Linked DNA regions of Homo sapiens: all the other regions are linked to region 1. The links are contacts of gene promoters, found by promoter capture Hi-C in blood cells and fetal thymus (Javierre and others, 2016). All regions are on one chromosome and are shown on one strand. The core of a region is centred on a gene start or on the middle of the fragment in contact, and the rest is flanking DNA. Distances in the headings are between cores, read along the strand shown.

What was found. The method cuts DNA at HindIII sites, captures the fragments that hold promoters and counts their contacts. A CHiCAGO score of 5 or more calls a contact.
Region 2: the fragment with the promoter of KRR1 here is called in contact with the fragment with the promoter of RAB21 in region 1 in 1 of 17 cell types (non-activated CD4 T cells); the score reaches 7.1 in non-activated CD4 T cells.
Region 3: the fragment with the promoter of OSBPL8 here is called in contact with the fragment with the promoter of RAB21 in region 1 in 2 of 17 cell types (activated CD4 T cells and naive CD8 T cells); the score reaches 5.5 in activated CD4 T cells.
Region 4: a contact is called between a fragment that was not itself captured here and the fragment with the promoter of RAB21 in region 1, in 1 of 17 cell types (activated CD4 T cells). The highest score is 8.3, in activated CD4 T cells.
Region 5: the fragment with the promoter of GLIPR1 here is called in contact with the fragment with the promoter of RAB21 in region 1 in 1 of 17 cell types (naive B cells); the score reaches 5.3 in naive B cells.

The regions. Positions count from the first base shown.
Region 1 is chr12:71,753,283-71,758,312 of GRCh38, forward strand. It overlaps RAB21 (RAB21, member RAS oncogene family), which reads left to right and starts at 1,581. Exons shown (of 7, transcript NM_014999.4): 1 at 1,581-2,006. The coding sequence starts at 1,848. RefSeq lists enhancers at 1,353-1,642, 2,283-2,472 and a silencer at 1,623-1,902. The HindIII fragment of the contact is 5,965 bases long and covers 1-5,030 here.
Region 2 is chr12:75,507,553-75,512,994 of GRCh38, forward strand. It overlaps KRR1 (KRR1 small subunit processome component), which reads right to left and starts at 4,057. Exons shown (of 10, transcript NM_007043.7): 1 at 3,961-4,057; 2 at 722-894. The coding sequence starts at 4,045. RefSeq lists enhancers at 3,270-3,814, 3,815-4,358, 3,865-4,024. The HindIII fragment of the contact is 5,214 bases long and covers 770-5,442 here.
Region 3 is chr12:76,558,281-76,563,418 of GRCh38, forward strand. OSBPL8 (oxysterol binding protein like 8) reads right to left here and starts at 1,491. Exons shown (of 24, transcript NM_020841.5): 1 at 1,117-1,491. It overlaps LOC105369850 (a long non-coding RNA gene), which reads left to right and starts at 1,622. Exons shown (of 4, transcript NR_188081.1): 1 at 1,622-1,953; 2 at 4,015-4,078. RefSeq lists an enhancer at 412-721 and a silencer at 1,132-1,321. The HindIII fragment of the contact is 3,809 bases long and covers 1-1,889 here.
Region 4 is chr12:76,078,480-76,083,450 of GRCh38, forward strand. The region is part of intron 1 of NAP1L1 (nucleosome assembly protein 1 like 1); the gene reads right to left. Among named protein-coding and RNA genes, the nearest start is that of NAP1L1, 3.7 kb to the right of the region's middle. The HindIII fragment of the contact is 4,283 bases long and covers 1-4,215 here.
Region 5 is chr12:75,478,098-75,483,415 of GRCh38, forward strand. It overlaps GLIPR1 (GLI pathogenesis related 1), which reads left to right and starts at 2,658. Exons shown (of 6, transcript NM_006851.3): 1 at 2,658-2,957; 2 at 3,737-3,982. The coding sequence starts at 2,784. RefSeq lists an enhancer at 4,926-4,975. The HindIII fragment of the contact is 5,495 bases long and covers 1-5,282 here.

The sequences.
Region 1 (5,030 bases), core at 331-2,830:
TCTTGTTGATCACAGTGCCTGGCATATGGTGGGCACATTTAAATATTTGTTGAATGAATTAACCGACTCTCTTTTTTTTTTTTTTTTTTTTTGAGACGGAGTCTTCCTCTGTCGCCAGGCTAGAGTGCAGTGGCGCGATCTCGGCTCACTGCCACCTCTGCCTCCCGGGTTCAAGCGCTTCCCCTGCCTCAGTCTCCCGAGTAGCTGGGATTATAGGCTTGTGCCACCATGCCCAGCTAATTTTTTGTATTTTAGTAGAGATGGGGTTTCACCATGTTGGCCAGGATGGTCTCGATCTCCTGACCTTGTGATCCGCCCGCCTCGGCCTCCCAAAGTGCTGGGATTACAGGCATGAGCCACCACGCCCGGCCTCTTTTTTTTTTTTTAACCTGGTTTGAAGTGTGAAAGAAGTTTGATTTTTAAAAAAATGTTTACCTGACACCAGGTTTCCAGTAAATTTTCAGAAATATTAGTATGATTTCTTGGAGGAGTATGGTTTCTTGGAGGCAGGCCGGGCGTGGTGGCTCACACCTATAATCCCAGCACTTTGGGAGGCCGAGGCAGGTGGATCACTTGAGGTCAGAGTTCAAGACCAGCCTGGCCAACATGGTGAAACCCTGTCTCCACTAAAAATACAAAAAGTAGCGGGGCGCGGTGGTGGGCGCCTATGGTCCCAGCTTCTCGGGAGGCTGAGGCAGGAGAATCACTTGAACCAGGAGGCAGAGACTGCAGTGAGCTGAGATCACGCCACTGCACTCCAGTCTGGGCGACAGAGCGATACTCCATCTCAAAACTAACAATACAAACAAACAAAAAAGAATGGGGATGCAGATGAGAAAAAACAAGCAATCATCGAACAAGCCACCTCAAGGTGGAGTACCATGGAACGTCAGAGGCTTCATGAAAGTCAGAAAAACTGAAGAGCACTTGGGGTTAGGAATTCAAAGGTGGGCAGCTCTTATACAGACCTTGCCCTCAACAAACCTATAGTCTAATGAGAGTCGATAAACACTTAGCAAAGTATTAATAATATCCATGGAGTGTGTAAAGCCCTAGTAAAGGAGGTATACTGGTGGTAAGAAATACCTAATTTTGTGAGGTGGGGGAATGGAAGGATGGGGGAAGGATTGGGTGGTCAGGGACGCGGTTTAAGCTGAGACTTGAAAGATGATGGAGTAGTTGACCAGGCGGTCAGAGGAACTTGGAAGCGCTATGATTCGGGATCCCACAGAGAGAGATTCAAGGGCACCTTGGCAGATATGGTTTACAGTGACCTCTGGTGTGACAGATCATTAGCATTGTGAACATGCAAAAACGATGAAGTTCTGCCCTTCATTTCACCAGAGCTGGGCTCGCCTCAAATTCCTGGTTCCTTATTCCCGCTGGCTCCCACCAACTGAAAAGCAGAGGTGGCTCGCAAGCGGCGGGGCTCTGCCCTAGATTGCCAGTAGGCGCTCGACTCACATCCAGCTCCACCCCGGGAGATGCCCCAGAAGCCCCGCCCACGTCCAGGCACGTTCTTCTGGGGCTAGTCGCAGGGGCCGCCCCGGCACCGGCGCTCACGTGACCCGAGGTGTGACGTAGGAGGAAGGAGACGCCATTAGAGGGAGGCAGAGAGGGATCGTTCTTCGCTTTTCCTCCGGTGCCTGACGTGGTGGGCTGGGGCCCTTCATTCTCGGACTTTCCCTCAGCCCTTCCAGGCCTCGCCCGAGGAGGGCGTGGGGACAGCGCCCGGGTCGGCGGGGCCGGGGCGGTGGGGGCTGAGCCGGCCGTGGCTGTGAAGGCGCTGCCGCGGCTGTCGGGAGGGCGGCGCGACACTCGGGCTCGGGCGGCCGGGAAGCGACGGGATGGCTGCGGCCGGCGGCGGCGGCGGCGGGGCGGCGGCGGCGGGCCGAGCCTACTCGTTCAAGGTGGTGCTGCTGGGGGAAGGCTGCGTGGGGAAGACGTCGCTGGTGCTGCGCTACTGCGAGAACAAGTTTAACGACAAGCACATCACCACTCTGCAGGTGCGGACCTCGGGGAGCGGGAGGGGGCGCCTCAGGGCCCCTACCCCTCCGGGGCTGGGGAAACTTTGCCGCCCTGGTCCCCTGGATGTAGGCTGGCAAATCTCAGGCCTGTCATCTCCGCCTTCGGTTTACCTTTCCGAATTCGCCCTGGGGAATCACCAGGTCGGGGCAGCCTGTAGACGCGAGGACAGGCTGTTGGGAGGGAAGTGGAAGGGCCCTGAAAAGTCCCCAGTGTTCCCCGTGGTGGCTGCGCACGTTGTGGTCTCCGTCCGTGGGCTGTTTTTTCCCATTTACTGCAGTTCCTGGGTCCCAGGTGTCAGTGTTGCAGTCTCCAAATGTTAGCTCCTTTTCTTTCTTTCAGAATTAGGAACTTAGCTGCGTATTTGATTTTGCGAATTAGGTGATTTGTAACTTCAGCGCTTACTGATGACTAAGTGTTTATGCAAGTTCCATTTTGTCCTGAGTAACAGGAATGGCAAAAGAGCCATCTCTGGAGGTTTTTTGAAATGACCGCTTGCCTAGGCGTGTTACGCAGTTTCATTGCAGCCTGCGTGGGTCTGACTTGCGGGTCACTCATATTCTGCGAGGTCGATTGACCCACGCTGAAACATCAAGTGAATACTGGCCAACAATTGGTCCCCAGACTAAAAGCCGCTGCTGTTACTCAGTTTCTTTACCTGTAAAATAAAAGGTCGGCTTTCTTCCACAGGTACATTGGAAAGGTGTTAAAATGTTATCATTGATTGAGAGTGAAGCCAGGCCTTTGAGGGAGTTGTACTCACCCCACCTCTCCCAGAGAAATCAGTTTTGATGTTATTAGGAGAAATTTATCCTACTAATTTGACTTACCAATTTGGTCAAAGGCAGTAAAGTCTAGTGGACTTTTGAGCCTGATTGTCCAGGTTCATGTCTCACCTCCATCCATTTAACTAGCTGTGTCATACTGGGTAAGTTACTTAACCTGTCTGTGCCTGTTTCTTCTGTTAAAATGGCCATAATAGTAGTATCTAGCTCATAGGGTTGTCAGGATAAATATACAGAAAAAGCACTGATGACCTGGTCCAGTGTAAGTTGTCTGCCTTTAATTACCGCCCCAACTTGCACAATAGGTCTTAATTAGTAAATGTGTAGTATGTGAGAACATCGACACTACTTAATAGAATGCGTAATCTCCTAATTGTTGTGACATTGGATGTTTGATGCTATTATTAAACTACTGAGTCTAGAATTTACAAGACGCTCTGGCTCTGATTCCATGTTCTATTTTTACTCCTCTGATTTTACTCGTATGTAAAGCATATCTGAAAAAGTGAGTGCCAGGAAACTGCATTTTTAAAAAATCCTTGTACCAGAACACTGACAAAATTTTAATAATGAATTGTTATTGTTCAGTGTCATTAGTGAGAGCCTGGTGTTTTAGATCAAGAAAATTCACTGGACAAATACCTAGGATCATTTGGAAGTTTAGAGATTTACTTAGGTAAAGTAGTAACAATAGCTAACATTTAGTGAGTTCTTACTGTGCTGATTATTTTGCTTGCTTTCTGTCTGCTTGCTTTAATTCTTATAACACCCTATGAAGTGGATAGTTTAGTGGATAGCCCTACAGCTGAGGAAAAACGTTTAGTTGAGTAATTTTGCTGGCAGTAATATTACCACAAGTCAATGGGGCAGGAGTGTCCAAGCTCAAATTTGAACCCCTGTCTGACTTCAGATTTTGAGCAATTAAATCACATTACCTCGGTATATTGATAAATAACCCATCTAGTGTTTTCCTTTATGCAAAGATCTAAGATAAAAGAAAACTATTGTAATTGAGGTCTCCACGTTTTTTTTCAAAAGATAACTTGAGTCTTGCCCTGTCGCCCAGGCTGAAGTGCAGCAATTTCCACTCACTGCAACCTCCACCTCCTGGGTCAAGTGATTCTCCTGCGTCAACCTCTCAAGTAGCTGGGATTACAGGCACACGCCACCACATCTGGCTAATTTTTTTGTATTTTTAGTAGAAACGGGGTTTCACCATGTTGTCCAGACAGGTCTCGAACTCCTGACCTCAGGTGATTTGCCCACCTTGGCCTCCCAAAGTGCTGGGATTACAGGGGTGAGCCACTGCACCTGGCCATACCCTTTCAACTTAAAAATTACACTTCCATTTTAAATTTCTAAAACATTCTTGAAACTGAAAGCAGAGTAAAGGTTTTTAAATATATGAAAAGCCACTGTACTCCACAGAGGGGAGGATGAAGTTATAGTAGATATCCAGTATTAATATCTGAATTATATTATAGAATTTAGGATTTTGTTGTACACCAATGTATGTAAACAGCAATGTGTCTAATCTCTTTCAGAGATACCAGTTAACCTCATCTTTCTTAACAATTTTTCAGAGGAATTTGATTTATGTGACTTGTAAGACACAACTTTGTATTCTTTTAATTTCCAAATGGAGAGGAAATCATGTCAGAAGATATGAGAGGAAGAGTTCACCTTTTTTCTCGTCAACAGAGTACCTGTCTATGTAAACTACTTTGTATTTTATAAAGTACATTCTCATACATTTCAAAGAATTGCAGGATTGACAGGAATTTAAGACAGTTATGTATGGATCACTATTTTGGTCTTCTAATGTTTAGTCAAGTGATTGTCCCCCTTTTTTTTTTTAACATCTTGGAGGTGAAATGAACTGGTATTATGGAAAGTGGAAAGCTCACTTTGTCCTAAGGTGTCCCATTTCATTTTTAAATTTTTTTTTTTTTCTTTTTGAGATGGAGTCTCACTCTATCACCCAGGCTGGAGTGGAGGGGTGCGATCTCGGCTCATTGCAACCTCTGCCTCCTGGATTCAAGTGGTTCTCCTGCCTCAGCCTCCCGAGTAGCTGGGACTACAGGCATGTGCCACCATGCCTGGCTAATTTTTGTATGTTTAGTAGCGATGGGATTTTGCCGTGTTGGCCAGGCTGGTCTCGAACTCCTGACCTCAGGTGATCCACCTGCCTCGGCCTCCCAAAGTGCTGGGATTACAGGT
Region 2 (5,442 bases), core at 2,807-5,306, 3.8 Mb after region 1:
ACAAAAAAAAAATGAGCTCAATCCCAGATGCAGCTACAAAACACAACCTGCAGCTTGCTGAGCCACCTTCACCCACAATGGCACAACCAACTCCAGAGCAGTCCCACAGTTAGAAACACATTTTATATCACAACCTAATACATATACACACACACACAAACAAAGCCAATATCAAAAAAAGATACTTTTACCATGTGATATGTCATTTTCTAAAGGCTCATTATAGCCATTAAATTGACTTCTCAATACACTAATGGGTTTCAATCCCCAGTTTGAAAAAAAAAATGCAGTTATCTAGGGGCATAGCATCAGCAATAAACAAGGAAAAGTTGGACACATCCACATCTTCCATTTAAGATGAAAGGTAATCAATTAGAAACATGACTCAGCTCAGACTGGGACAGATACATGACAACTATCATGGCCTGGAGCAGGCATACTGAAATTGGGACTTCACAGGTGAATTTCAGACAGTTGTGAAGCTCCTAAAATATTAAAGGTATGTAAATTTTTCAAAGTAATTTATTACTCATAAAATTAAAACAAATGAACATTAGGTAAGAAGAAAACTTACTTAAATAGTTTAGAATACCAAAGGAACCAAAGTAACCAGCTATGTTAGCACCATTAAAAAAAAAAAAAAAGCATTAGCATACATACATTTAAAGGCATAAGCAAGAGCAAAGTCTCAAATAAATGTATTGATATAAGATACACATACATGTTCATTTAAGGCTTTCTGCACCAATGGCCAACACTCTTTCAAGTAAGCTTCCCTGTATTTTGGGAACAAAGTTGCGAAACTGCTCTCCTCCAAAAGTCCTCTGGGATTGTCCTCTTTGGAAAAAGCTGGTTCCTTCCAACCATCAGGAACCGTAAGGAGTTCTGATTCATCTACAGAAAGGAAAAAATTTACACATCACATTTTAACTGTCTTTTGGACATACACATCACATTTTAACTGTCTTTTGGACACTTTATGAACATCCTATGCACATATTCACAAACCTTCCAATACTCCTTGCATTTCCTTTTCCCCTGCTTTTTATATTATTCAAGAGTCAAAGAACGTTCCTCTGTCATTATCATCAATTCTCTGTATTAAAATTATCTGTACACATTTCAGTTGCCTCATATGACAAAGTTCCTTAAGAGCAGAAACCCTCTTCACACTAGTTGGCATATGCCAGGCAGATAGTGAGTACTCCAGAAACATGTACTGCACTACACTATCATAAAATTGAAGATTTGAATGCCATTTTGGTTAGTATTTTAAATACAATTAACCTTTCTGACTTTCCTGGAGTGTATGGAATCTGGATGTATGTGTTTGTGTAAAACTTCTGAAAGAGAATTCTAGTTTATCTTTCAGTTAATAATCACTGGTAATTCTAGATTTTCCTAAGCATTTTGAGTGCCTTATTTCCATACGCCTTTCATCGTAACTATAAAAGGTAGAATCTGTATTATTATTCTCATTTTATAGAAGATGGTCTAAAAAGGTTAAGTGACTTGCCTAAGGGAACACAAAGCTCACTCAGCCTGGGACTCCTTTCACTACAAGAAAATGCCTCCTAAGGGCCGTAAATTATCTTCTGAATCATTTATTTAAAAAACTCTTGATCTTGAATTTGAAGAACTCCTTAATTTCAATAGCTATACTCTAATTCAGTTATACTCAAAGGTATGATCCATAGACTTGCAGTATCAGCACAAACTGTAAGTCTGTCAGAAATGCAATTATTGGGCCCCACTACAGACCTACTGAATGAGAATCTCTTCGACGAGGGACAAGAATCTGTGTTTTACCATGCTCAACAGGAGACTCTTAAGCACGGTAAAGTTTGAAAAACACGTCATTACCCTATGTTAGCAGCCTCAGACAGGTAAACTTTCTGCTTATACTCACATCCACGTTGCTATTTCTGGTTCAAATCACAGACAATTGGCTAGTCTTCATATAAAGGATTCTCCAATGTCCTTTAAAGAACACGAATTCCACAAAAGTGATTACTTATATACTATACACATTTCTTTTTTTTTTTTTTTTTTTAAAGACAGGGCCTCGCTCTGTCACCCAGGCTGGAGTGCAATGGCTCCATCCCAGCTCACTGCAGCCTGGACCTCCTGGACTCAAGCGATCTATTCTCTTGCCTCAGCCTCACAAGTAGCTGGTACTACAGGCATGTGCCATCATGTCCGGCTAATTTTTTTTTTTTTTTTGTAGCGAAAGGGTTTTGCCATGTTGACCAGACTGGTCTCCTGGGCTCAAGCAATCCCCCCTCCTCAGCTTGCCAAAGTGCTGGGATTACAGGTGTGAGTCACTGCAACTAGTTACTTACAATGTTTACCTGACGAAGTCCCTATCCAATTTAAACACTTCAAAGGCTATGGATAATTTTTTTTAAAATCCCCACTACAACCTCAGGAAAAAAACTGACAAAAGAAATACTCAGGAGTTTCACAATTAAGGAAGCCTCAAAACATGTGAAAAGATATGCAACCTCATAGGTGATCAGAAAATGCAAACTAAAACTGCAACCAAATACCATTTCATAACTACCAAAATGACAGAAATTCAAAATTCAGATAACATGTATTCATACTAATGTAAGGCAATGACAACTTTCGTCCACTCCTAGTGGGAACAAAACTGACACTAGCACTTTGGAAAAAAGTTAGCATTACTTACACACACCCTACACTTCAGTGATTCCAATCCTATGTTCACAACCTAGAGAAACCCTTGAACATGTTAACCAGAAGACATGTACAAAGATGTTTTAGCAGTATTGTTTATAATTGCAAGCAATTGGGAACAATCCAAATGTCCACCGATAGTAAAATGAAAAAATAAATTGGGGTATATTCATACAAGGAAACACCACATAACAGTGAAAAGACTAAAACTACACCCGCAAGTATCACCCTGTTTGAAAAACAAAAAGCTAAATCTAAGAAGACACAGAAAAATGCATACGGTCCACTTTCATGTATATAAAATTAAAAAACAGGCTAAATTAAGCCACTTCATGACTACAAGAAGAGGAACAGAATGCAACACAATTCAGGGTGGTTACGTCTGATACAGGAAAAGAGAATATGATCTGAGAGGTGCACGTAAGGGTTTGAGGGGTATGGTAATGCTCTATTTTACTTAGTCTGAATGCTAGTTTCCCGCATGGTTTTATTAAACTCTATATAAGTTGTATCCCCTGCTATGTACGTTACATAATCATTTAATGAGCAACAACAAAGAAACTTTGAATACTTTCCCAATGCATCTAAATTGAGAGTTCAATGTTTTTAACACTTCCTATAAGCCTGGTTGAACAGATCCCCAGGCTATTTATGACTTCTCTATCATTCACACTGAAGAAAACGGGTAAAACCAGACTACAACGCAGGAGTTAACAATTAAAAGGTAACACAACCTAAACAGTAAGGGCTGTGTCGTCTAATATTTTAGCATCTGACAAACAGGAATTGATAATCTTTCAAAATGTCTTTACTGACAAACTAGAGCTAAGGACATGTCGGATAGCTCCTTTCCCCATACCTCACCCCATTATCAGGGTCCACTCTTGTATATCATGACTACCTATTCCCACCTCACCCTATTCCTCATTCCGTCAGTGACTTTCAGCCACCCGCAGGCTTACAAGGTTCTGCGTCGCCCTAGGCATTTTCTTAATACTCATCCTTTTACAAAAGACGTAATCCGCAACAGCTTCGCTTTGGGGACCCTTTAGCAAAAGCAATGAATTAGGAACACCTGGGTGGCACCATATCGGCCAGCCGTTCCTGTGGGCCCAGCCAAAATCTTATCAGCGATTATTCAGGTACTCAACTACACAGTACAGGCTCCAGGTGGTTTTATAAGTCCACGAGGAACGAAAGAAAAAAACATCGCAACTCAACGTACACAAACCCCAGGCTTCGGTTCCCACATAACATCACCTTGGTTCTCCGGCTTCGGCTTCTGGTTACGAAATTCACTTTTTCCAGCGCCTTTTTCTGGCCGCTCCAGCGAGGGAGACGCCATTTGCAAGCTGCTTCCGGTGGCTCCGGAAATGAAACTGTTCTTAAACCCTACCGGCTAAAACGCCTACACTCAAAATGAGTTCCGCGGAACTCAGACGAGGAGATCTGCGCAGTCTCCGTGCGTACGTGCGTTAAGCCCGCGCTTTTACACAAACCACAGCTTCTCCTACGTGGCCAATGAAGAGCCGGAGACTTTCTCCCAGTATGCCCTGAAACCATGGAGTTTGCGTACTGGGACTTGTAGTTTAGCAGGCGGTATAGGCAAATTGGATACTGTTTTATCCGTAGTTTCCTCGTGGCCTCACGGCCTAACCTGGACCATCGGACAGCGGAGTGCTACCAACCTGTCATTGATGTCATTCATTCTTTCGATAAATATTTATATGTTGGCCAAATATGCGCTAGATGTTGGGAGGAAGTACAAATATGAGAATACAATGTATATTGGGCCTCCACTGCAACAAGTGACAGGAATAGCTACTATTTATTGTGAGACTACTTTGTTTCAGTACTTTATTTACATTATTTCTAATTTTAAAAACAGTGACAAAATTAAACTTTTCAAAGTTGTTTCTGATGGTAATCTTCCCGAGTGTTGGTATTTCTCTAAGTCAGAGGGATGGTAATTCAACATCCTGACGTTTCTGAAGTATTTCAACTAGCCTAAGATTTCTCAAAATCTCTAAACTCCTTTTCTACCCCCAACATTACATAGGGCTAAGATGTGTAGAGAGGTTCATCACTAACTACAAATAACTACACTTTTGGAAGTATAAGAGTTCTTCGACATGCCAAATATAAGATTTTTTTAAATTTTGATTTTATTGCTTGCATTTCTAAAATTTTCTGCAGCAAATAGGGAAAGTCTTTGATAGGTTAAATTCCTTGCATTAGTGAAATACACGTTTGTCTGATAAATCCACTCTCGTGTATCTTATACAATAATTTAGGTTTTCATATATGAGATCCAGGTATGAAACAGATTGTTACATATGGACAGAAGAACCCACGACAGAGGGGTTTTTTGTTTTTATCCTGTGAGTTTTATAAATGACAGGGATTTTATCTCTGTTCTTTTAATTTCCTCAAAAAATGATAAATTCCTAAAATAGAACAGATAGCAGCAGGTGAAAGTTATAAAGTGAGGAGTACACCTCATGAAGCAGGTTTTTATCATTCTTATTTTAAGTAACTCAATCACTAATAAGTGGAAGGCCCGTCTTCAAGTTCAGGCAGTTTGACCTAGCAGCTTCAGGGGGCTACTATTCATTAGGAGCTTCAAATGTGTTAGAGGGCTGATAGGGATTAAGGGGAGGGAATAGTCTAGAAATAATATTTGTGTTAAAGCCCTTTATTTTATAGCAAAATTTTCTACATAGGCTTTTCTTCCCATTTACG
Region 3 (5,138 bases), core at 241-2,740, 4.8 Mb after region 1:
AGAAACTGATCATAGCCTCTCAGCAAAATCAAGTTTAGATGAAACTCTAGGAAATTAGCAAAATTTAACAATCAATTCACCCACGATTCTCCACAATTCTTGCTCTCTCTAGATACGAAGGGAGGCAAAAACTGTTTTAAAGGATTATTTCAAAAGCAGCACTAATTTTGGGAAAAACTTAACTGCCATGCAGGAGACACTGTATTACTACTCAGACGTCATTTAAGTCTTCTAGCAGCAGAAAGGCAAAAACATCATTAAATTTTTTATTTAATGCATATATACTTACATTATCAGTTAAAGTTTACCCATCTGTTTACGTTGTCCAAGTTACCTATTATTTCAGAAAGCATTTAAATAAAATGAAATTAGGTTACGTTCTGCAACGCAGATGTGTCTCATAAAGAAGAGTGTTAAATGACTTTTGTGAATGGAAAATCTGCATATACTGTTGCTTCGCCTCAGCCAGTCTTGAGTGGGTGGTTCAATGAACCTAAAGCATGCTGCCTGTGAAGCTCCTTGGAACCTGATTCCACTCTTGAGAGAGGGCTTAGAAACAAACATTAAATTTAAAAGCACAGCAAAGGCTTGGCTTTCCTCCTACGTTACAAGAAGGCCGGGAGAACTGAGGCTTAGAGGAACAACACCGTGTCGCTTGGCTCTGCAAAGGCGGGTGCGGTCTGCGGTGCGCGGCACAGCCTTCTCTGGGGCTGTCACAGGAAAGAAGGAGCCTCGCCTTAACCGCACCGAGCGACAAAGCGCCAGCTCTCCTGGGCGCGGGGGCTCCCAACGAGGCCCATGCCATCAACCTATCAAACTTCAGGAGGGACAGACACCCGGGGCGGTCGAAATGCTCCAACAGCCTCCCACCCCCGTTCCCCTGCCGCGGCTTTTGTAAGGCTGCAGATGCACCTACTGTGGGCCCCTAAACACTCCACCCTGCCAGCCTTTCCAATCCCCCTACTCCAAAAGGGAACAAAGGAGCCAAAGAACTCCTCGGCGGGGGTGGCCAGGAGTCCCCGACAGCCCGAGCTCAGAACGTGGCAATAAGGGTGCGCAGTCGCCCTGAGGGGTGCGAACCCAGCACCCCAACCTCAGGAATGGAGCAACACTCACCCGTGCGGAGCTCCCAGGGAGGCGGGACGCAAGGAGCCGGTTCCTCCGAGGTCGCCGCGGCGCCGGGGTCCGAGGCCCCGTAAGCGTCTAGTCAGACCCCAACTTCTCTCGGCCGCTGTCGTCGGCGGCAGCTGGGGCGCGAGCCTGGACGAAGGGCGCTGCCCAGCGGCCGCGGAGGCACTGCCGGCTCAGCCCCCGAGCGGGGCGGGAACTTTCGGCCCCGAGGTCCACCAGCCCGGGCGGACCCCCACCTTCCCTCAGTCGGCTTGCTACCGGCAGCGGCTACTGCGGCGTCCAAAGCTAACACTACAGCCGCCGCCTGGCCAGGAGCGCGTCGCGGCCTAATGTTGTCATCCGCCGCGTCGCCGCCTTTCTGGGCACCCAGAACCGCGAAGATCCTTCACATTCTAGTGCCCTCCCCCTGCCCCGCCCGCCCCCCGGATCACGGGCTTCGGCCACGCCCTCTTCCCGTCACGTGACGGTGCGCGGAGGCGGTGGTGGAGTTGCTTCCCCTGCTAGGCGGGCTCGAACCGGGCGGGAGTCACTGTCCACCTTGCTTCGCCAGGGTGTTATCGCCAGCCAGTCCCCTTCCGCATGCCCAAGGGCAGCCTCAGGAAGCGAGCCCACCACCGTCGGCCCAGCGCCTGTTGATCGGCCAGGCCTTCTGGGCCGGTCATACTGGGCCCTTCCTAACCTGAGGAGATTGCACAGTAGGGCTCCCTGGTCTGGTCAGGGCTCAGTTAGGACCCCTCTCCAGCCTTAGGCTTGGTGAAAGCTTTAGCGAAACAGAAAAAAGAACGCATCGTGGTGTAGAGTGTATGGCCTAAGAAGCATTCGGTAACTAAACTACTTGTTCCTATTTCTAGTGGCACATTAACCGTGGCATTTAATTTACTGCTTTCCTCATTAGAGGTTTTTTTTTTTTTGAGGAAACGGTGTATTTCAATCATGCTGGGATGAAAACAGCCTAGCAAACTTATTTTTGTTCCTTGTTATGTTCAGGATCCTGCTGCCAGTTTTACAGTCATTAAGTTTTACAGTGTGTTAGGTTGGTGACAGTTTAAACGGGTACGCAGGAATTTGACAGTTTGTTCCATTTTTTAAAATAAAGCCTAATTCTTGATTTTTTTTCTAATGCCTTAATTTTTTTTTCCTAATTCCTTAACTCTAGGACTTAACCTTTTGCTTTCTTTTTTAGCCATGATCCGAAGAACCCTCTAGCCGCCTAATGAAATCCTAACTATACAGAAGTAAGGGAGGTAGAATAAAGATCATACTCAAACCCTGATCACAATGAAGGCAAATGAGAAAGCTTTCTGTAATAATTAAATTGGGGTCATAACTCATTTTCCCTTGTAGCCCAGAACTAAGGATTTTTTTCTTAAGCTATTCTCATCTCATTACATTTTCTTAACAAGAAATCAGAAGGCATTCTGATAAGCTGGATACATTGAAATGAATAAGCAATAGAGTTTGGCCTATATAATTATTATTAATATATTTCATAGCAGCTCTAAAAAAATCATAGACTTACATTGTTTTATGTTACCCAAGAAAGAAAACAAAGGCTGCCAATGAAACTATGCCATACCGCTGATATGTAAGGCACCTTTAAGCCACATCTTTTTCCTTTTTTTTTTGAGACAGGGTCTCACTCTGTCTCCCAGACTGGAGTGCAGAGGCGCAATCTCGGCCCACTGCAATTTCCGCCTCCCGGTTCAAGCGATTCTCCTCCCTTAGCCTCCCAAGGAGCTGAGATTACAGGCATGCGCCACCATGCCCAGCTAATTTTTGTATTTTTAGTAGAGAGGAGGTTTCACCATTTTGGCAAGGCTGGTGTTGAACTCGTGACCTCAAATGATTCACCCGCCTCGACCTCCCAAAATGCTGGGATTACAGGCATGAGCCACCGCGCCCGGCCTGAGACACATCTTGAATTCAGAGATGTAAACATGTCAGAAACAACGAGTCTTAGAATCTCTGAGATATTGTCATGAACTGGGAAACAACGAGTCTTAGAATCTCTGAGATATTGTCATGAACTGGGAAACAACGAGTCTTAGAATCTCTGAGATATTGTCATGAACTGGTGTTCCAAAGAGGAAAAGATTCTACCAGGTTCTGTTCTGAAGCCTGAGAGACTGTAGTACAAATAAATGTGAAGGAAGTTTATTATTCTGTGACATTATTTCAGCAAAGCTAGTAACTTTGGAGTTTGTTAACAGATTAACTTGTCTCCTGTTTTCTAGAGGCATGTTTTTCAACCTGCAACTCAAAAATCAATTTCATTTTTATATGAAATAGGCTAGGATGTAATACAATATAAAATACCAGAGTGCATAATGTCTAGTAAGGGCAAAAATTGCTTCCTGAAACTTTTTGTTTCAAATATGGTGGAAGGTGAGAGTATGTCCTATGTTGTGATTTAAACAATTTCTTACTGTGAGTTGCAATCAAATAGATTTGGAAAAGAATGTTCCTAGAGCATAGATAATATGCAAAATACACCATCTGGACCCCGTTTTTCTGGTACTTTTATTTTACTTTGGAAACTGAGACTAAAGATTAGAAAAAGGTGGCAAATTGCCTTGCCTAATTCTCTTCTGCCTCAGCCCCAATTTCATACATTGGCTTTTGAAAATTTGATCATTTGTTGGAAAAAGCAATGTACTGGAAGCAAGGAAGCCTAGGTTACAGACTTAGCTAATGAGATGTATGACTAGATAAATTACTCCCTGCATTTCAAGTTCCAATCAAGTAGGACCACATGCTGTTTGAGAAATGATACTAAACCACCTTTTTTTTTTCCCGGTGGATGGCAATCACATTGGAAACAAACAGACACGGTATACTCAGGATTATGCAAATTACTGACAGCCTACGTTTAACTTCTTTCAGCTCCACTCAAAAAAAAGAAAGTCCTAATGCAAGTAATTGAAAGTGAAGATATTGCAAAACAAATGTAAGTATATCTTTCACAATCTTCTCTACTTTGATTATCACTAGTATAATAGTTACTTGTCATGAATAACTAATGATTTTGACATACTTAACAACTGATTGCAACACAAAAATATATTAATCCACTACAGTTGAAAAATCATTTTTTCAGATCCTTTCAAATCTGATATTGTGATTCCAGGAATGATAATTCAATCTAGCATTTTCAATGTAATGACAACATAAACAGAAACTAATATGTGATCCTGCACTGTAACTGAAAAATATTCAGTAACTCCCAGAGATGCCCTGCAAGTTTGCTACTCTTACAATGATTTTAAGAATGACATTTTGAAATAAAGCTTTTTTATTATAACGATCCGATTTTAACTCCAATGAGAATTCATCTCTTTTGCCTACTGCTTTATTAATTATACATTTCTAAGAATGGGAAGTTCTTTCCAAATTAGTTTAAGCACTGACAGGCTTGACAGCCTTTCCCACAGTATATTTCAACCCTGACCTAGAATGACAGAGATGTTGCTTGAGGTTGTTTGCTTTTTTCCATTTGGCTTATCCCATTAGACAATTATGTTGCTGACAATTACTAATCAGGATTCTAGACTAAAATCCTCATTTTCTGGAAGAGAATTTAGATTAAGAGCAACCTCAGCCATAAATAAGGTATTCAACACAGCTTTGAAGACTTGTATTCTTGTTGGTCATGTGATTTGCTTTAGCCAGTGCTTTGTGAGCAGATGTTAAATGCTAAATCAAAGCAGAGGCTTTAAATTTGATTGCAAAATTCAGGTCAATCTCTTACTCTTGTGCCACCTGCCATGAGAAAGGTATGTTCCAGATAAGATCTCAGAATAAGAAAATAGATGGAGCAGACCTGAAACTCTCACCCTGTACAGAACTGAAGCAACTGACTTGCAGCTCCTGACATACGGCTACTGATGTGAAACAAGAGTAAAACAAAAATATTTGTTGTTGTGAATCACAAATATTTTTGAGATTGTTTGTTGCGTAGCATAATCTTGCAAATCATCTAAAGTGAATTTGAGCCAACAAACTCATGA
Region 4 (4,971 bases), core at 824-3,323, 4.3 Mb after region 1:
TAACAGAAATCAATCCTACACAAAGACTTAAAAATTGTCAGACTATAAACAAATACATACCTACAGACATAGTAAGCCTGGTTGTCTTTGATCTAAGTTTGAAAACACACTGTCTGCAAGGAAGTCATCTATTAAAGGTGATATAACAAAATTTGGAAAACTAGAACTTCTAGAAATAAAACTAATGAATCAAACTAAATGGGCTGGCTTAAGAGTAAGATACACAGCTGAAGAGAGAATTAAGTGAGCTGAAATGAAGCCTAGAAGAAAACTTTGAAAATATGGCAGAGCCACAGAATCTAAAGGACTGAAAATACTGAAATGAAAAGACATGTTAAGATCCAATGAAGCCTAATAAAGACTTCATACAAGTTCTGGGAGCAGGAGGACAGAATATTTGAAGAAGTTAATACGCAATAATTTTCCATTTCCTTAAGTGATGAAAGACACCAATCCACAGATTCAAGTAGCCCTACAAATCAAAACCATAAAATAAAGAATCCATATATATATATACACACACACACACACACATATATTTATCCAGCTCCGGATACATCAGTAAAAAGGCAAGATAGCAAAAACAAATTCATCTCAAAAGCACACACAAAAAAGGTAGATTAACTTCAAAGGCACAAAAAGACTGACAGCTGTCTTCTCTTCAATAAGACACTAAAAGACAACAGAATCCTCAATATGTTGAAAATAACTAAGGCTCTTAAAATACTATCCCCAACCAAAACATCTTTTAAGAATGAAGGTGAGGCCATGTGCGGTAGCTCACGTCTATAGTCTCAGCACTTTGGAAGGCTGGGGCAGGAGGATCGCTTGAGGCCAGGAGTTCAAGGCCAGCCTGGGCAACACAGATCATCTCTACAAAAAATTAACATGCCTGCTGTAGTCCTAGCTACTCGGGAGACTGAGGCAGGAAGATCACTTGAACCCAGGAGTTTGAGGTTACAGTGAGCTATGATCGTGCCACTGCACTTCAACATACCTCCTTAAAAAAAAATCTGTAATGTAAAAGACAGTTTCAGAATAAAACACTAATCAGAGTTGGTATCACGTATTAATGTCAGGAAAAAATAGACTTCAAGGAAAAACATTAAGATAAAAAGGTCACTTTATAATAAAAGGTTCATACATATATGGTGTGTATAAGATCTCAAAAGACATAACTGACCCTAAAAACATGCTTGAAGGCATTTTTTTTTTTTTTTTGGAGACAAGGCTTTGCTCTATTGCCCAGGCTATAGTGCAGTGGCGTGATCACAGCTCACTGCAGCCTTGACCTCACAGGCTCAAGTGATCCTCTCACCTCAGCCTCCTGAGTAGCTGGGACTACAGGTATGCATTCTCCACCACACTCAGCTATATTGTTTTAATTTTTTTTGTAAAGACAGGGTGTCTCACTATGTCGCCTAGACTGGTCTGGAAATTCTGGGCTCCCGCCTTGGCCTCACAAAGTGCTGTGATTGATTACAGGTGTGAGCCACCACACCTGGCCTCCTGAAAGGAAATCTTCCTTCCTAAACTGAACTAAAAACAAAATCTTCCACTGAAGAGGGGAGGCAACTGACTGAACTAATTGGATACATAGAGCTGACATAAGGCTAAGAAACCATTACCCAACTGCAGTCACATAACGTTTCAGTCAACACAGGACTGCATATACAACAGTGATCCCACAAGATTATAATGGAGCTGAAACATTCCTATTGCCTAGTAATGTCACAGCTCAATTCATTATTCATGTTTGTGGTGATGCTGGTATAAACAAACCTACTGCAGAGTCATATAAAAGTATGGCACTTACAATTATTTACAGTACATAATACTTGATAAGGACAATAAATGATTTATTGGTTTATGTATTTACTATACTATGCTTTTTGTGGTTAGAGTACACTCCAACTTATTTTTAAAAAAGTTAAAACTGCCTACAGTATTCAACATAGCAACATGCTATACAGGTTTGTAGCCTAGGAACAACAAACAGGCTATACCATATAACCCAGGTATGTACTAGGCCGTACCATCTAGGTTTGTGTAAATACATTCTATGACATTCACAAAAGGATGAAATGGCTTAATGATGCATTTCCCCCAGAACACATCCCCATCATTAACCATGCATGACTGTGTATGTAAACAAATTCTATGCTGGAAGAAGACTTCATGACCATAACTGCTATACAGCTTTTCCCTAGAGCACAGTGGGATACAAGGTGGAGTGCTTTTGAATTTCATGCTGCTATGGTTTGAGTATTTGTCCCCTCTAAAACTCAAGTTGAAATTTAATCCCCTATGTGGCAGCACTGAGAGATGGGGGTCTTTAAGAAGTGATTGGATCATGAGGGCTCCACCCTCACAAACGAATTAATCCATTCATGGATTAATGTATTTCTTTATAAATTACCCAGTTTCCCACCAGGGGAGCTGGAGAGCCAAGCTACCCAGTTAGCACACTCAGCCCCCTCCCCATGTGATACCCTGTACTGCCTTGGGAACCTTCAGAGTCTCCACAAGTAAGGTTCTCACCACATGGGTCCCCTCGATCTTGGATTTCTCAGCCTCTATAACTGCAAGAAATAAATTCTTTTTTTTTAAATAAATTACTCAGTTTCAGGTATTCTAAGCAACAGAAAATGAACTAATATTCATGCTGATTTATAGCAGAACAGTGTAAGTCAACATTCTTTCAAAACCAGGATAAAAATTATCTCATCATAAGTTATCACTGCTCACGTACGTAACCACGGACGGGTTATCTAACCACTCCACACCTATTTTTTTTCCTTGTTAAAATGTTGATGCTACCTGTCTCTAAGTAAATTAAATGAGCTAATAATACACACAGAATTTAAAACAATGCCTGAATAATCAATCAGTGTTGCCTATTACATTATTTATCCCTGTTATGCTCTTCTGTACCCTCTTTAGAAAATAATTCCAAGACTGAAATTATAACTCTAGACAGGTGTGGTGGCTCACACCCATACACTCAGCACTTTGGGAGGCCAAGGCAAAATCGCTTGAGGTGAGGCATTTAAGACCAGCCAGGGCAACACAGCAAGAGCCTGTCTCCACAAGGAAAAAATATATATAACCCTGTTTCCCAATAAAAATTAAAATGTACAAAACTTCTGAATAAGTAAAAATATATACAAATATGCAGGAAGTAAAAGGCAGAGTTGGTAACCAAAGGTATAGAAGCCATTTTCTATGGCAAGCCCACTAATGTACTCTAATGTTCTGTAGTCATTGTGCTAAACGACTTACATATGGATAGGTGTAAAGTAACAACTCTCTCCTTCTAACCCCTATTCTGCCCAAAAACTTATTTAGATGAAACTAGTTTGAAATGGAACTTAAAATCATCAAATTATAACAGGTTCCTTTGTGTAAACGCTGTATTACTCTTTGACCCCTTTACCCTTTCCTTCCTTTATAGCTCTCATCACAATTTAACATTCTACATCTAAGCAACCAATTTGCCTCTTTTGCTCATGACATAAGATACATGTCCATACAGGTGCTAGATAGTTACCCAAAGACTAAACTGAGAACACAATTACAGGTTTGATTAAACTTGAAGATCTGAATACACTGATCATTAATATTTTGATATTGATGAGTCATTCTCTCTAATCCTTTGTTTCAAATTTACAACCAAGAAGTGAATAAAATATTGTATTTTGACATCTTCAGACCTTTGAAGTCCAACAGATACTGCTTCTTTAGCCCCTTCTACAAAAAGACCCTTAGTTTTGAATATATTTTGAGAATTTAGAATCAACTCAGTTTTACCAGGAGCCAACAGGAGCAAGCTGAATAAAATGAGATGGCATTTTGGATTACATTAGTTATGGTACAGGTATTCGTTTCAAAAATCTCATTAAAGGCCAAGTGCAGTAATTTACCATATTCAGTATTAGCTTTATAATTCTGCAAATCAATGGGCCTAATATAAAAATAGGCACTTTGTAGCAGATAAAATTTAGAAAGATATTCAAATTGGTATAGTGAAAACTTTTAAATTTCTATTTACTAACATAATGTTGACTTGGAGAATCTATGAAAGTCAGGTTTTATGACAGAAGATGTCCAAGTCCACCTACCAGGGTTTAGTTCCATACATTCTCCAAAGGACAGTATTCTTAGAACTAAACTATAGATTTAGGCCATTTATTTAAACTTGGGCAACTTCAAACAAGCTTGAAACACAAGAGTGCCTTGAAAATAACTGTAAAAGTCATTTACTTCCCTTCGATTTTTAAATGGTACCCTATACATAAAAGGTTTTTCCCTTATTCAATCAAAGGTAATGTATATTACTTCCAAAGTATAGGAGTATTAATTTAAGCTGACCAAAAAAAGAGGACCCAGATACTCGTTTCCAAAGATGTTTTGAATCCACCTATTTTCAAAAGGCCAAATTTCATTTTACAGCTCTTGTGAAACCAGGCAAGCAGTGTAAATTTTAAAATGCAGCAGTGGGATATCTTCAAATGTAGCAGTGAGATTTTTAAAATGTAGTTGTTTCAAAACTGATCAGTGACCGTCTAAAATACGGGCTCCTTGAGGACATCCTGCGCCTGGTTCATCCTTTTTGCACTCTCAAAGTCTAGCCTTCCCAGATGGGACCTCAGTCCCAGCCCCCCTACACTGCCATCCCCCAGATCTTTAGGGCAGTAGGGTTCATTGACAAGGTTGCAGGCTACAAACTTGGCAAAGTTTATACTAACACCTCATTCCATCCCACCTCCCATCTTAAAAAGGAAACCGTTAAGTATCTTATTCTAGTGACTTCAATAAAGGAACTAATTTATAAGACAGCCAAGAACAATTAAAGTCATAAAGGGCCAAACATTTTATTTTCATCTAAGAACCGTTTGCAGGGGTGGTCCGATCTTTTGGCTTCCCTGGGCCACACTAGAACTGTCTTGGGCCACACGTAAAATACATTAA
Region 5 (5,318 bases), core at 1,408-3,907, 3.7 Mb after region 1:
TTAAACGATACAGAGAAGAATTAAAAAGAAAGTTAAAAATCTTTTAAAATGCTACCATGAGTGATGAGCACTAAAAACCAATCTCTCTGTCTTAACACACGTGCATAATTATCAAAGAGATCATGGTGAAGACTTGGGTTAAGAAGTGGAAAAAGTCATAGCAAAGTTCAAAGCCTTCTAAGCAGTGCAGGCTTACATTTGCTTCCAAGTAAAAGTTCCTGTTCTGTGGCAAACCACTTCTCTGGACTTTTGGTGCAAACGTGTAGTGTGAATTGAAAAGTTTTAGAGTTGTAGCTCTAAGGAGCTAACCTGGTCTGCACAATAACACAAAAATCATCTCTGTGACGGCAGACTTTCCCTTTTGCTGATTATTTTCAGGAAAGTAGAGAAAAAATATTAAATCATTTCAAGACCAAGATAACATTGCTCATTCTTGGGAGTTGTATGTGTATAACAGGGATTACGCAAGCAACCAAAAAAACCACTGATTTTGCTTGCTCGTGGGGTTTCCTCTTTCTTGTTGTTGTATTCAAAACTCAGTCTAGCTCACAGAGACCCAGAAGAAGATGAGAAGCAGGCCTTAGACATGGTTACCACTTCAAACTGGAGAAAGGTCTCTTTGTTTATTGTCACTACATTGATCAAAAAGTTGCCTATGAGACCTGGATAAGACACTGCTTATCTCAGATTCCTATAATGTAAAGACATGCTAGTAGAAATTAGGCAGCCTGGACAAAATTTGAATTTATGTATGAGTATTTTTAAGGTTATTTGTGTGTGTGTGGCAATAGTAATTCTGCCTTATGGTTCTGTAATGGTTTTTGTTTGTTTGGTTGGTTGGTTGGGCTTTTTTGAGATGGAGTTTCACTCTTGTTGCCTAGGCTAGAGTGCAATGACAATCTCAGTTTACTGCAACTCCGCCTCCCAGGTTCAAGCAATTCTCCTGCCTCAGCCTCGCAAGTAGCTGGGATTACAGGCATGTGCCACCATGCCAGGCTAATTTTGGTATTTCTAGTAGAGACAGGGTTTCACCATGTTGGTCAGGCTGGCCTTGCACAACTGACCTCAGATGATCCGCCCTCCTCAGCCTCCCAAAGTGCTGGGATTACAGGCGTGAGCCACCGCGCCTGGCCCGTATGTTTGTTTTTAATGATGGGGCCTCGCTCTGTCACCCAGGCTGGATTGCAGTGACCTGACTATAGCTCTTCACAGCCTCAAATTGTGGGGATCAAGCTATCCTCCCACCTCAACTTTCTGAGTAGGTGGGGCTACAGGTGTGCCTGGAATGTTTCTTTACTTTTTGTTTGCATTAGAAATATTTCCCCACCTCATTCCATTTTCCATCTCTCTTAATTTTCTAAAATACACGTGTTTTCTAAAACCAGGTCTAAACCCCACCTACAGCTAAAATCCTCCAATAACTTCCCATGACTTTGGTGATAAAATAAAAAATCATTAGCAGAATTGAGAAATCCTTCCTGATCTGACTCTTAACTTCTCTCCCCCAAGTGGCATGAAAGCATCATTTGGATTCTGAATTCCATGACACCAGGTATCAAGTTTTCTACCAGTCAGAATCACTACTTATTTACAGACCATATTTACAGAGGGAGACAATATGGAGAGGTTCTTGCTCTATTCTTGCCATAACACCATGTCTTCAATTTCACAACTAGATATATAGTTCCTATCCCTCTAATTCCCTTCTCCTCTCCAGCGCTTTTTCACTTGATCAACACCTAGCTGATTCTAGCCTCAGCAAAGACCTCACCTGCTGTATGTAGGCCGGCTCTGCCGTTTCCAGAATGGGTTAAGTATGCTCTCTTGTGTGTCCATATCTACCTGTGCTTTCCTATATCCAGATCTCCAACAGCCCCTGTTGTAACATCCTTGTCATCACCATCTCACAGCTCTTACCACTGTAAGCTCCTTGGGGCCAGTGACTGTGTTTTTATTTCTGTATTACTAAGGTGAATATACAAGGCAGGAATTTAATATTAGCTAGTTCATTTGATCCTGCCAAACCTCTGTAATTAAGGAAGCAGAAAAGGTCCCATAGTCTCATTCAATAGGTGGCTGAGGTTTAGAGAGTTTTGTATCCTGTCCAAGGTCTTACAGCTAGTTAGAAACAGAAACTAAATTCTCAACTTGAGTCCTGTATTCTTTCTACTATTCTCCCTCTCAATCCCTCTCTCTCTTTCTCTCTCTCTCTCTTTCTCTCCCTCTCTCTCTCTCACACACACACACACACACACACATACACGCTTACATGTTTCTACCATCGTGAATGAATTCTAGGTCAAGTTTATGATGTTAACCAGATATTCCAACCACTATGTGTTGATATGACTCTAAAAAGAAAAAGATTTCTGAAAGCATTTTGCGAGGCATTTATAGAAGTAAGAGATATTTTCATTTTATCACCGCAACCTCCATTAAAAATTGGAGACTATTATTCCTGGAGACTTCAGAATTTTCTTTGGAAATATCTCCCAATTCAAAAGGAAGTCTGACACAGCCTCATAAAAATCTATGTCGTAATAGGTGCTGTGTCACTGAAAACCACTGAAAAGACAGGGTTAAGAACACAAAGTGAGCTGCACACCATATATGGAGAAACCCGTTTCTTAAAACTAGTGATGAACTCATGCTCTGTTCTGTTTTCTCAAAGCTGAAGTCGGCTAGGTTTGCAAAGCTGTGGGCTGAGCACTCAGGCAATCACACTCTCAGAAACTGCGGCGGCTCTGGACTGCAGCCTCCCAAGGCTCCATGCCAGACAAAGCATGCGTGTCACACTTGCTACAATAGCCTGGATGGTTTCTTTTGTCTCCAATTATTCACACACAGCAAATATTTTGCCAGATATCGAAAATGAAGATTTCATCAAAGACTGCGTTCGAATCCATAACAAGTTCCGATCAGAGGTGAAACCAACAGCCAGTGATATGCTATACATGGTAAGGAAAATATCATTAATTGTGGCGTCAGTCAGTCAGAAACAACTAATGTGTATTGACTTTGGTGTTAATACCTTCGTAATACTGAATGATTTTTTTTTCATTGTGATTAATGTATGCAGTAAATTCACAGTCTGTGATCAAAACACATCCAGTTTAGCTCTGTCTACCCAACTGTTGTTATAAGCAAGTGCCACAGCACATTTTACTTCTCTTTGGACACTTCCTGTTTTCTGGTTTTCAGTGGATTTTACTTCTCTTTTTGTTATCTTCCTCCCTGTTAATTTTTGTGATTTGGTTTTCTTTTTTTTTTTTTTTTTTTGTCTCTAAATTTACTTTTTTTGCTGCTGACAAAGTACTGAGTTGCTCAGGTAGGCAGAATGGCATCTGGGGAAAGGATGGGATTTTGATTCAGTAAGGCTTGGGATTGAATTTCAGATCTGTGGCTTTAAGCTGGTTTTTAACCTTTCTGAACTTCTTAGGATATGGGCTGTTGTGGTTATGGAATAATGTTGTGAAACACGGCACACACTATTTTGCCCACAATTAGCCTTCAGTGAAATGTCAGTTTTCCTCACTTAGATTCTAAATTCCATGAAACTAAATTGTCACGTTTCCTACCAGCCCTACTCAGTGCTTGAAGACCATATTTATAGAGGACTCATATGCAGTGGTATCTTCTCTCCTTATCTCACCTCGTTTTCCATTCAAATTCCCACTGTACTCACCCCAGTTACATTTCAGATGAACCCCCTATTGTTTAATGTTTATTTTTGCAGACTTGGGACCCAGCACTAGCCCAAATTGCAAAAGCATGGGCCAGCAATTGCCAGTTTTCACATAATACACGGCTGAAGCCACCCCACAAGCTGCACCCAAACTTCACTTCACTGGGAGAGAACATCTGGACTGGGTCTGTGCCCATTTTTTCTGTGTCTTCCGCCATCACAAACTGGTATGACGAAATCCAGGACTATGACTTCAAGACTCGGATATGCAAAAAAGTCTGTGGCCACTACACTCAGGTAAGGATCTGCCCTATATTATCTTGAAACTGTCTTTTCAAGTATGAGGAGAAAAATTGTACTATGAAGTTAAGAAAATGTATAGTATGCTAGTATACCTGTAAATATAAGGGAGTTAAATAGAACAGCCTCCAAGAACAGAAAATAATGCTTGAAAAGTTTAGTTGTGTGAACTAAACACATAATAGGTAATATGTGAGGCCCACCAACTTGGACAGGCTTTGAACAATTCCTGTAACAGCTATTCTCCCATAGGACTTTATTCCATTTGTGAGAAATCAAAGAACCTTATGAGTGAAAGGATTTTCAGGTTCCAGCTGTAGCATGAGTTTTAAATGAAATTTGAGCCAATTGTTTTGGGACTATAAAATTGGAAGAAACAAGACTCTCAGACAGAAACATCAATAAGAACTGATGCTTCCACAACCTCTCATTCTCTCAAACATCGACTGAAAACCTACTGTGTGCCATGCACTAGGCACCACGCACGGTGCTACACAAGGAGGGAGAAAAAGTCAGTCCCAGGCCAACAGAGAGGCCAACGTGTAAACTTATATGAACCATTCTGAGGGTATTCTGCCCCCAGAATCCATATTATTAGTCCCAATAGCCACATTCAGAGCCACCCATTGAGTTTTTTTTTTTTTTTTTAATTTTTACTCAAGCTGATTCTGGCTCCCTAACCCTACCTCACATTTGCAGCATGATGGAAACAACTCTCTAGGGAGCATCTGTCATAATTGTCTTCAGACGCTGCCTTCCTGTCCTGGCTACATTTTGTTTATTTACTGTCACTTCCTGGCCATCCTTGTCAAACCAATAACGTACGGTACTTAACCTATAATTGACTGTTTTGGGGCACAAAAAATCAGTTGAAATGAGGTATGAAGGCAAAAACGTTTCTATCAAGGCAGTTACATTGAAACATTAGGTGGTTTTAAGGAACAACATGGTGTAAGAAAACCTCCCTTACTCCAGCTCAGCCTTACAAAGCCTGTGATCTCATTCGTGGTGCTACAGATGAACCAAGTTTGGTGCAGTTACAAAAAATTATTATAAGAGTAAAATGAATTTCTCCTAAATTTACTTCATAAACTAACAATTTTGGTTTACATTTACAAATAAATTTAACCAGGAAATAAGTTTCCTTGGATTCCAACAAGACCTAGGGGAGTAGAAAGCTAAATCTAGATAGCCTACAAGTGGTACTTGTACTGTTATGCATTGCGGTATTTAAATACTCAGAAATAATTGTCAGTTTGAGGGTGCCTACTTTCATTTATTTATTAGTCAGTGTTTAAGCTTTTACCCTATAACAGGCACTAGTGATATGTCT